Linked DNA regions of Homo sapiens: all the other regions are linked to region 2. Evidence: promoter capture Hi-C in human tissues and cell types (Jung and others, 2019). All regions are on one chromosome and are shown on one strand. The core of a region is centred on a gene start or on the middle of the fragment in contact, and the rest is flanking DNA. Distances in the headings are between cores, read along the strand shown. Region 1 overlaps ATRN (attractin). Region 2 holds the start of CENPB (centromere protein B). Region 3 overlaps RNF24 (ring finger protein 24).

Evidence for each region. Contacts are between HindIII fragments. The study calls those that stand out against the background at their distance.
Region 1: a contact is called between a fragment that was not itself captured here and the fragment with the promoter of CENPB in region 2, in 6 of the 25 tissues and cell types used here (bladder, dorsolateral prefrontal cortex, lymphoblastoid cells and 3 more).
Region 3: a fragment that was not itself captured here is called in contact with the fragment with the promoter of CENPB in region 2 in 5 of the 25 tissues and cell types used here (dorsolateral prefrontal cortex, liver, lymphoblastoid cells and 2 more).

Annotation. Positions count from the first base shown.
Region 1 is chr20:3,650,059-3,653,329 of GRCh38, reverse strand. ATRN (attractin) reads right to left here. Exons shown (of 29, transcript NM_139321.3): 29 at 2,212-3,271. Among named protein-coding and RNA genes, the nearest start is that of GFRA4, 12 kb to the left of the region's middle. The HindIII fragment of the contact is 6,966 bases long and covers 1-3,271 here.
Region 2 is chr20:3,785,259-3,788,566 of GRCh38, reverse strand. CENPB (centromere protein B) reads left to right here and starts at 1,827. Exons shown (of 1, transcript NM_001810.6): 1 at 1,827-3,308. The coding sequence starts at 2,084. It also overlaps a transcript of CDC25B not described here. RefSeq lists a silencer at 1,526-1,875 and enhancers at 1,711-2,420, 2,316-2,455, 2,421-3,131. The HindIII fragment of the contact is 8,329 bases long and covers 1-2,100 here.
Region 3 is chr20:3,967,256-3,970,361 of GRCh38, reverse strand. The region is part of intron 1 of RNF24 (ring finger protein 24); the gene reads left to right. Among named protein-coding and RNA genes, the nearest start is that of RNF24, 47 kb to the left of the region's middle. The HindIII fragment of the contact is 3,961 bases long and covers 1-3,106 here.

The DNA of each region.
Region 1 (3,271 bases), core at 746-3,245, 140 kb after region 2:
TAATCCACCTCCCACCCAGCAGGTAGTGATGAGAACAGGCAGGACACCCTCCTAGGCCCTCCTACCCAGGAAGGAGCGGGTGCAGATGCAGCAATTGCTGCTCTGCGGTGTTTTTGCAATCCTGCTGGGCCCTGTCCTGGGCTGGGGGGAGTCCTCGCTCAGGCCCAGTTCTGCTCTTGGGCCCACATCTGAGCTTGTAAAGCCCTCGCTGGACACAGCTTTCACAACCATTTTCCTGCCTGAAGGTGGATTTAAGACTTCCTCAATTGCCACCGTTTTTTTTTTTTTTTTTTTTTTTTTTTAAGGCTTTGCTAATGGTTTCTTAAATTTACTACATCTTTATTTATTTCCAGGCAGGTCCAGGGTCAGTGACTACATTCATGGTTTGTTCCTGGAAACAGTTCTCATGTCAGCTTTTTCTTTGCTTCCTTAACCACGTGCCCCTCCCTCAAGCTGGTGGCTTTGCAGTTTCCATGCTCCAGTGGGAAGACCACACCCTTCATTGGATGGTCACCATGAGGCCCAGTCACTGTGTTCAACTAAGTCTCATGGGGCCTTTGTTGCTCACCTGCACCTCTTACTGGTTGGAGACTAGAAGCAGTTGGCTTTTCCAGAATTGCAAGGCCCTGGTTAACATCTTTCCATCTTTTTCCCTTCTGCTTGTAAACTGGCTAATTCTTTCTTGAAGTAAACTTTTTCTCGTGATGCCTCGCCAAAAGCAGCCAGTAACAATCAACACATATTTGTTGTTGTTGTTGTTGTTTATTCCCCTCAAGTCAAAAAGTCAGCAGACATGGAGTTTGTTTTCCGAGTTATCGAGTGAAACGGCCTTACCAGATGTTTTGCTCCGCCTGGCAGGGACCTCAGTTGTCCTGCCAGCTGCACCTGTCTTATCACTGCTCGCCACCTGGCCACACGCTGAGCCAGTGCCATGTACTTAAGGGTTTGGTTACATGTGCACTGCACTTCAAAGTGCTGATTTGTATATTAGTGAGAATAAGAAAAGCTAACTAGTGTAACAAAGCCCCAAATCTCAGTGGATCAGCAGAGTGAGTTTGCTTTCCAGTGATGCAAAGGCCAGCACAGCTCTTACTGATCAGGCGGCCGGCCTCTAAGGGGTGACTCAGGGACCCACAGTCCCTCCAGTCTTTAACATGTGATCCGTAGGAGAGTCCCCTGTGGGAGCATTTGTGTGCCACGTTTGGAATTGGTGCCCATCACTTCTTCCAACCTTTCCTTGGCCATGGCTTAGCTTGGTCCCAACCTAACTGCAGGGAGGCTGGGAAATGATGAGCTGTGGGCCCAGTAGGTTTGGTAAACACAGCATTGTCTCTGCCACAGTACCACCAAATCACAGGGTTTCTATCCTGTTACTGTTGGTGGCTCTCATAACCCTCCCTGGAAGAGTTTCAAGGTCCTTCTCAACTTGTTTGCAGCCACTAGTCCAGCCATTTCCCTCCCTAAGCCAGACCTGAGCTCTGGTAGGCAGGCCTCCTCCAGGCTCCTGCCCTCACCTCAGGCCCTGGCCCTAGTACCCTGCCATCTTCCCCTACAGGAGTGACCGTCTTGTGTTTCCTCCTTCTTTCAATGACCTCATCCTTCTGGAAGGAACTGCTAGCACTGGGAATCTGCACTCTGCACTGAAATACATGACTCTGACCCATTCTGAGGGCAGGAGCCAAATAAAAGGGGGCAGGACACACAGGAGGCCCCCAAACAAGGCCTTGCCAATGGGAGTAACTTCCTCAAAACTTCAAGGCCGAGGAAAACACTGGCCACGGCTGAGACCTGTCAGCACACCTGAGATTTAGCAGTTTGGAGACAACCTAGAGGACATTCAGGAGCCTGTGAGGAGAGCGCAAAGTGGAGGGATAACAGCACCACTGGAGACAGTGGTGTGGTTAGTGGAGCAGTGAGACGGCTGTCCATACCTCACTGCTCAGATCTGTCCCTGCCCCCACGGGCCCAGCTGCCCTGTAGGCACACAAAGGCTGTGTGGAAGGTCTGTGGCTCACAAGCTGCCTGGAGGGCTGTCTGAGGTACCTGCCAGGGGTTTTCACCCTCACCTCCGTTAACTGTCAAGTGCTCCCTCTGACGCAGTCTGAAAACTGGTAAACGCTTTTTTTTTTCCCTTAAGGTTCTAATGACCAAAATGTAAATATAGGCAAAACAATGCAAAATCAAAATGAAACACTCAGAACAAAAGCCACATTTTTACCAGATCTACTTTTATTTCAGAAGGAAGTTTGTATTATAGTATTTACTTTTGTTTATATACAAGTTCTTCACATTTGTGTTTAAAATGCACAGACCTCCCTTAGTTCTCTTGTTCCTGCTTAAATTAGCTGTTATTTTACAATACAAAAAATACCAAAAAATTGCAGTCCTAAATGTATGTATAACACCCACAATCCCCGCGATGAAATAGTTTACAATACTTACTCCATATTTACATGAGTGTAATAGATGCTAAATTATACATATTAACAAACTAAGCTTGAATCCAAACAAACGAAATCGTAAATAACTATAAAACAAAAACATTTCCAGAGCCAGAATTAGTTCAACGAAACAGGCTTCACTAGTGTTTAGAATGTTTTGTGCACAAATTCAGTTACTGAAAATCAATTCCATTACTGCCTTTAAAAGATGAGGTGCCAATTTTCCTCTCCATTTCAAAACATCTCCTTGTAGGCAGGGTGTTTGACTCTCATCAAGGGGCAATATCTCTTGGTGGGCCTGGCTATCTAGAAACCACCGCAATGGCTGGAGCCAAGTTTGGTCAATGGGGTAAACATTTCAGAAGGTAGGCAGGGCATGCCCTGAGGCCAGGAGGCCTCTGCCGTCCTGGCTGTGTCCTCAGGATGGCCAATTCTCACAGAAACCACCACAAGGAAAGATCTCCTGGGATGACAGGGGTGTGAGGACTTGGATTTTGTTTTAATTCTAAAATCTATTTTTACATCTCAGTCACTACCCTAGCATTAGCTTAAGTTAGTGTTTAGCAAATACTTGTTGAATGGATGGATGAATAAATGAAATGGAAGGATCAAAGATGTTCATGAAAACACCACCATCTCCCAAGGAAGTGAATCAGCCCCTGGCCCCAGTACACCCCATTAAATCAAAGGAGCAGGATTTGCACTGGAAGGTAAAATGCCTCTTCCCACCAGCAGTGCCCTGCTCTTTTTATTTCCCAGGTGTCTCCAGTCTTGAATGGCAGGACTTACCCACGGGTAGTCCAGTACTTTCCTTCTGCTGACAGTCTTCT
Region 2 (3,308 bases), core at 578-3,077:
ATCTCAGGGATAGGGAAGTCCTCTCTAAGTAAGACACAAAACCCCGAAGCAATAAGGAAAAAATTGACAGGTTGAAGATTAAAAACTTCTCATATCCAAAAGATTCCCTAAACTAACTTAGACAAGTGGCAGACAGGGAGAAAACATTTGCAACATACTTAACAAGATCTTTTCTTCAGAGCATGTAAAGAGCTCCTAAAAGTCAAGAAAAAGACAAACACATGGTCAAAGGATATGACTAGAAAATTCACAGGATTCAAATGGCCAAGAAACATACGAAAACAGAAATTTGCACTAAAACAGCAGTGAGTTACACTTTCTTCCTTTGGCTTCCAGAATGCCACAGTAGCCTGGTTTTTCTCCTGCTTCAGGGGCTCCTCCACTTCAAGAGTCTCTATTTGGTTCTTTCTTTCTTTCTTTCTTTTTTTTTGAGATGGAGTCTCACTCTTTTGCCCAGGCTGGAGTGCAGTGGCATGATCTTGGCTCCCTGCAACCTCTGCCTCCCAGGCTCAAGCGATTCTCCTGCCTCAGCCTCCCGAATAGCTGGGACTACAGGTGAGTGCCACCACACTTGGCTAATTTTTTGTATTTTTAGTAGAGACGGAGTTTCACTATATTGGCCAGGCTGGTCTTGAACTCCTGATCTCAAGTGGTCCCGCCTGCTTCGGCCTCCTAAAGTGCTGGGATTACAGACGTGAGCCACTGCACCTGGCCTCTTTCTTGAGCCCTTAACCTTGGAGGACCCAGGGCACTGTCCTTGGTCCTCTTTTCTTCTTTGTCTACACTCACCCACAGCTTCATCCAGCCCCAGGTCCTCAGCCTGTCCCCCTGGGTCACAGCCTTCCCCTCTGCCAATGCTGGAGTTCCCCTTAGTGCTGCCCTAAGAGATTTTTAAAAACACAGCTATACATTCATTGTTTTAAGAGCTTGGCATTTTAATGTTTTGCTGCAGGAGAGGGAGGCTTCAGGGATTCACACTTATGTATATACATGATGTTATTTCTGTAAGTGCAAACACATACATTTATGGCTATATGCATGGAAAAGCCCAGAAAGTGACACACCAAGATGTTATGAGTGTTTATCTATGGGTTGTGGGATTACTAGAACTTTAAAAATGTCATTAGCACCATCAAATAGATTTACAACTGTAATGCTGATTTTAAAAATAACTTAAGTGTGTAACAATAGGTTACATACGCTAGTGTTCATTCATAGCTGGAATGCTACACAATCATTAAAAAGCGTGTTGGCAATGATACTTACCGATATGGCAAAATTCTCACTACTTGATGCCAGGTAAAACAGCAGGAGATGCCAGATATACAGTCTATACAGTCTGATGCCAGTTTTATATAATAAATTTTTAAAAAGAAAACGACATGCATCTAGAGAAAAGACTGGAAGGAAATGTATCAAAATGTTACCTGTGCATCTCTCCAGGTGACGTGAAAAGCGTTTTTCAACTTCTTGAATTTTTCAGGTTCCGCAAAAAAAAAAGTGCGTTATTTTTACCTTAATTAAAAAAAAAAAAAACAAACAAAAACCCTGGTTCTTATTCTTTTTGAGCAGCAAGTCGCTGTCCGCCGGGCGCAGTAGCGATGCACCGCGTCCCCGCCCGCGTCGCTGCCGGGTCGCCGGAGGCCGCAGCACGGGCAGGTCCAGCAGGCCGCAGCGCCCCCCCGCGGTATGTCCCGGCGGCGGGAAGGGGGTGGGCGCGGAGGGCGGGGAGGAGGCGCCGGGCGTCCCCGCGCTTCCCGCGAGATCCCGCTCCGCCCGCTCCGCCCCGCTCGCCGCGCTCCCAGCTCCCCGCGCCGCGGCACTTCCTGCCTTCCGCGCCCGCGCCGCCCGCCCTCGTCTGCGCCCGTCGCCTGCCGCCCGCCGCCCGGCGACGCGCCCGCCGGCGTCCCCGGAGGTGCCCCCGGCCCGGCCGGGTCGTCGCCCCGCCGCCGCGCCCGCGAGCCGCTTTGTCTCGGGCGGGGCGCGCGGGAGAGGCCGCCAGGTGCCCCCCGCCACGGGCCCGGGCCCCCCGCCCCGGGGCGGCGGCGGCGGCGCCGGGCCCCGGGGCGGGGGGCGCGCCGGGATGGGCCCCAAGAGGCGACAGCTGACGTTCCGGGAGAAGTCACGGATCATCCAGGAGGTGGAGGAGAATCCGGACCTGCGCAAGGGCGAGATCGCGCGGCGCTTCAACATCCCGCCGTCCACGCTGAGCACGATCCTGAAGAACAAGCGCGCCATCCTGGCGTCGGAGCGCAAGTACGGGGTGGCCTCCACCTGCCGCAAGACCAACAAGCTGTCTCCCTACGACAAGCTCGAGGGCTTGCTCATCGCCTGGTTCCAGCAGATCCGCGCCGCCGGCCTGCCGGTCAAGGGCATCATCCTCAAGGAGAAGGCGCTGCGCATAGCCGAGGAGCTGGGCATGGACGACTTCACCGCCTCCAACGGCTGGCTGGACCGCTTCCGCCGGCGCCACGGCGTGGTGTCCTGCAGCGGCGTGGCCCGCGCCCGCGCGCGAAACGCTGCCCCCCGCACCCCGGCGGCGCCTGCCAGTCCGGCCGCGGTGCCCTCGGAGGGCAGTGGCGGGAGCACTACTGGTTGGCGCGCTCGGGAGGAGCAGCCGCCGTCGGTGGCCGAGGGCTACGCCTCGCAGGACGTGTTCAGCGCCACCGAGACCAGTCTATGGTACGACTTCCTGCCCGACCAGGCCGCGGGGCTGTGCGGAGGCGACGGACGGCCGCGTCAAGCCACCCAGCGCCTGAGCGTCCTGCTATGCGCCAATGCCGACGGCAGCGAGAAGCTGCCCCCGCTGGTGGCCGGCAAGTCGGCCAAGCCCCGCGCAGGCCAAGCCGGCCTGCCCTGCGACTACACCGCCAACTCCAAGGGTGGTGTCACCACCCAGGCCCTGGCCAAGTACTTGAAGGCCTTGGACACCCGAATGGCTGCAGAGTCTCGCCGGGTCCTGCTGTTGGCCGGCCGCTTGGCTGCCCAGTCCTTGGACACCTCGGGCCTGCGGCATGTGCAGCTGGCCTTCTTCCCTCCCGGCACCGTGCATCCGCTGGAGAGGGGAGTGGTCCAGCAGGTGAAGGGCCACTACCGCCAGGCCATGCTGCTCAAGGCCATGGCCGCGCTAGAGGGCCAGGATCCCTCAGGCCTGCAGCTGGGTCTCACGGAGGCCCTGCACTTTGTGGCTGCCGCCTGGCAGGCAGTGGAGCCTTCGGACATAGCCGCCTGCTTTCGTGAGGCTGGCTTTGGGGGTGGCCCTAATGCCACCATCACCACTTCCCTCAAGAGTGAGGGAGAGGAAGAGG
Region 3 (3,106 bases), core at 393-2,892, 180 kb before region 2:
CTTCCTTTGACAGCACTCTGACAGTGAAACGGTGGGTTGTAATGCTGCTTCATTAATGCCAGGTAAAGGTAGAAGTCCAGGTTCCCTATTTAGCCTTTATTGACATGGGGGGCGGGGACGGGGCAGGAATGGGAGTTCCAGCTCTCAACTAGGCTTTCACTGATACCTCTTTGGCTGGAAAAGGTAGGAGTGCTTGTTGCCACTTGGTGGTGGTAAAATCCCGATTCTTCACGAGATCCTCCTCTGTCATCACCCCATTGAGGAGGAGTATAGTCACTTTGTTACTGCTGGATAGGGGTAGAAGTCAGGGTCCACATGTAGTCTCTACTGATATCACTGAGGTGGAGCCTCATTTTCACCATGTTGTGTAAAAATTCCAGCTGGCCAACATGGTGAAACTCTGTCTCTACTAAAAATACAAAAATTAGCTGGGCATGGTGGTGGGCGCCTGTAGTCCCAGCTACTCGGGAGGCTGAGGCAGGACAATCGCTTGAACCTGGAAGGCGGAGGTTGCAGTGAGCCAAGATCACACCACTGCACTCCAGCCTGGTGACAGAGCAAGACGCCATCTCAAAAAAAAAAAAAAAACAGATTTCAGCTTCCTACTTGGCCTTTTCTAACACTATCCCAGCAAGATGGCTGGGGGGCATCTCGTTACATCCTGGCAAGAGTGAAAATCTAGGCTCTGCCTTCAGCCTTTGCTGGCATGTCTATAGGGGTGTGGCCATAGTTTTTTCTGGGTTGTTTAGCTGAAGTAGGGCAATTCTTGTTTAAAAGCTTTCAGTCTTGTTAACTACTCCTTTTGTCATCCTTTGGCTAGAGAGAACACGTTCATTAGGGCTTTTTTTTTTTTTTGTCTTCACCTGTTGACATTCTTGTTTGCCAACTTTGCCAGCTCTAAGTCTGGGATATAGGAGACAAAAACAAAGCCCAGAGAACTCGTTAACATGTGGTTCCTTGGGTCCCCAGGTCCCTAGTTAGTGTGCTACCTTCTGTCCAACTTAATGTCCATGGTTTTTAGTTATATTTAGCTGGATAAATAGGGAAATGTATGTCTATGCCATCTTTCTGGAGTCAGAAGTCTACCTGACTGTCTTTTAATGGAGATACAGACAGTGATTCCATTATCTTTTATTGTTGCATTTTAGTTAATAATGAAAACTAACATTTCTCAAGTACACAGTATGTGCCCAGGTACTGTTCTAAGTGCTTTAAGTGCTTTTCGTGTGTTGAGTCATTTAATTCCCTTAAAACTTTATGAAATAGTTACTAGTATTATTCTGTCTTATCAGATGAGGAAACCGAGACATAGAAAAGATAAGAAACAAGCCCCAAATTACTGACAAATCCGTGGTTAAACCCCTGGCTCTCTGACTCCATAAGCCCACTCTAATACTCATGGCCTAGGATAAATCTCAAATCTATATGCTTTCCATTATAACAACTTTTTTTTTTTGGAAACTTATCACAGTTTTTCTATCCTAGAATTCAGAAATTTTACTAGGATCTGTCCAAATATAGGTCTTATTTTTAAAATAATTCTCTCTAGAACCCAGTGTATCCATTTCATCAGAAAGCTTAGGTCTTTCTACTGATCAGTGACATGTTTTTAAAATTTTTAATCTTTCCTCTCATCCACCCACTCAAGAAAAGATTTTGCAGAAGGTGTTTCATGTGGTCATAAAGATACTCAATAAATAACAAAGAAGTTAGTTCCTTCTAATATGTCAAAAGCTTTCTCTTTTAGAGATAGTCTTGCTTTGTCACCCAGGCTGGAGCGTAGCAGTGATATCATAGCTCACTGTAACCTTGAATTCCTGGGCTCAAGTGATCCTCCCATCTTAGCCTCCAGAGTAACTAGTACTACAAGCACATGCCACCATGCCCAACTAATTTTTTAATTTTTATTTTTATTTGTACAGGTGGGGTCTCCCTGTGTCTCCCAGGCTGGTCTCAAATCCCTGGCCTCGAGCAGTCCTCCCACCTCAGCCTCCCAAAGTACTGGGGTTACAGGCATGTACCACTGCACCCAGCCCCTTTCTGAGCATTTTTTTTTTCCTTTGAGATGGAGTCTTGCTCTGTCCCAGGCTGGAGTGCAATGGTGCGATCTCAGCTCACTGCAACCTCTGCCTCCCAGGTTGAAGCTAATCTGCCTCAGCTTCCTGAGAAGCTGGGATTACAGGCGCACGCCACCAGGCCCATCTAATTTTTGTATTTTTTAGTAGAGACGGGGTTTCACCACATTAGCCAGGCAGGTCTCGAACTCCTGACCTCGTGATCTGCCCACCTGGGCCTCCCAAAGTGCTGGGATTACAGGCGTGAGCCACCGCACCCAGCCACCTGTTACATTTTTTATTCTTTCTTTCTTTTTTTTTTTTTTTTTTTTTTGTTGCCAGGCTGGAGTGCAGTGGCGCAATCTCGGCTCACTGCAACTTCCGACTCCATGGTTCAAGGGATTCTCCTGCCTCAGCCTCCCGAGTAGCTGGGATTACAGGCATGCGTCACCACGCTCAGCTAATTTTTGTATTTTTATAGAGACAGAGTTTCACCATATTGGCCAAGATGGTCTCGATCTCCTGACCTCGTGATCTGCCCGCCTCAGCCTCCCAAAGTGCTGGGATTACAGGCATGAGCCACTGCACCCGGCACTTCTGAGCATTTTTGAAGCAAAACTAGAATATTGACTCCTGGGAAGATGATATGGTATTGTCCAGGGAACAGGAACTGGTCTAAGAAGAATGTGGCTACCAAGCATGCTTTGAGGAATGCTACTGCAGCCCCATTTAGCTGTGGTGTATTGTGTTAAACTCAGGTCATGTAGGCATCCAAATCTCAAGTAATCTGTCCCTCTTAGAACTTCTTGGTTCTAAGATTGCTGATAAAATACTCAAATCTTCTTGTCTTTTTTTTTTGTTTTGGTTTGATTTTAATAAACTGACTGGGTGGTTTGAAATTTAGGCTGAGGCTAGAGATTTCAAGAACTGAATTTACATAAGGGGAAAAAAAGGCTTTCACGTGAATGAAGTTGGAAATGCCAAGTAAGCTACAACAGTGTACTGTATGTTCTATTTCTCCTCTTCACTCCCACAAGGAGCAATTACTAAAT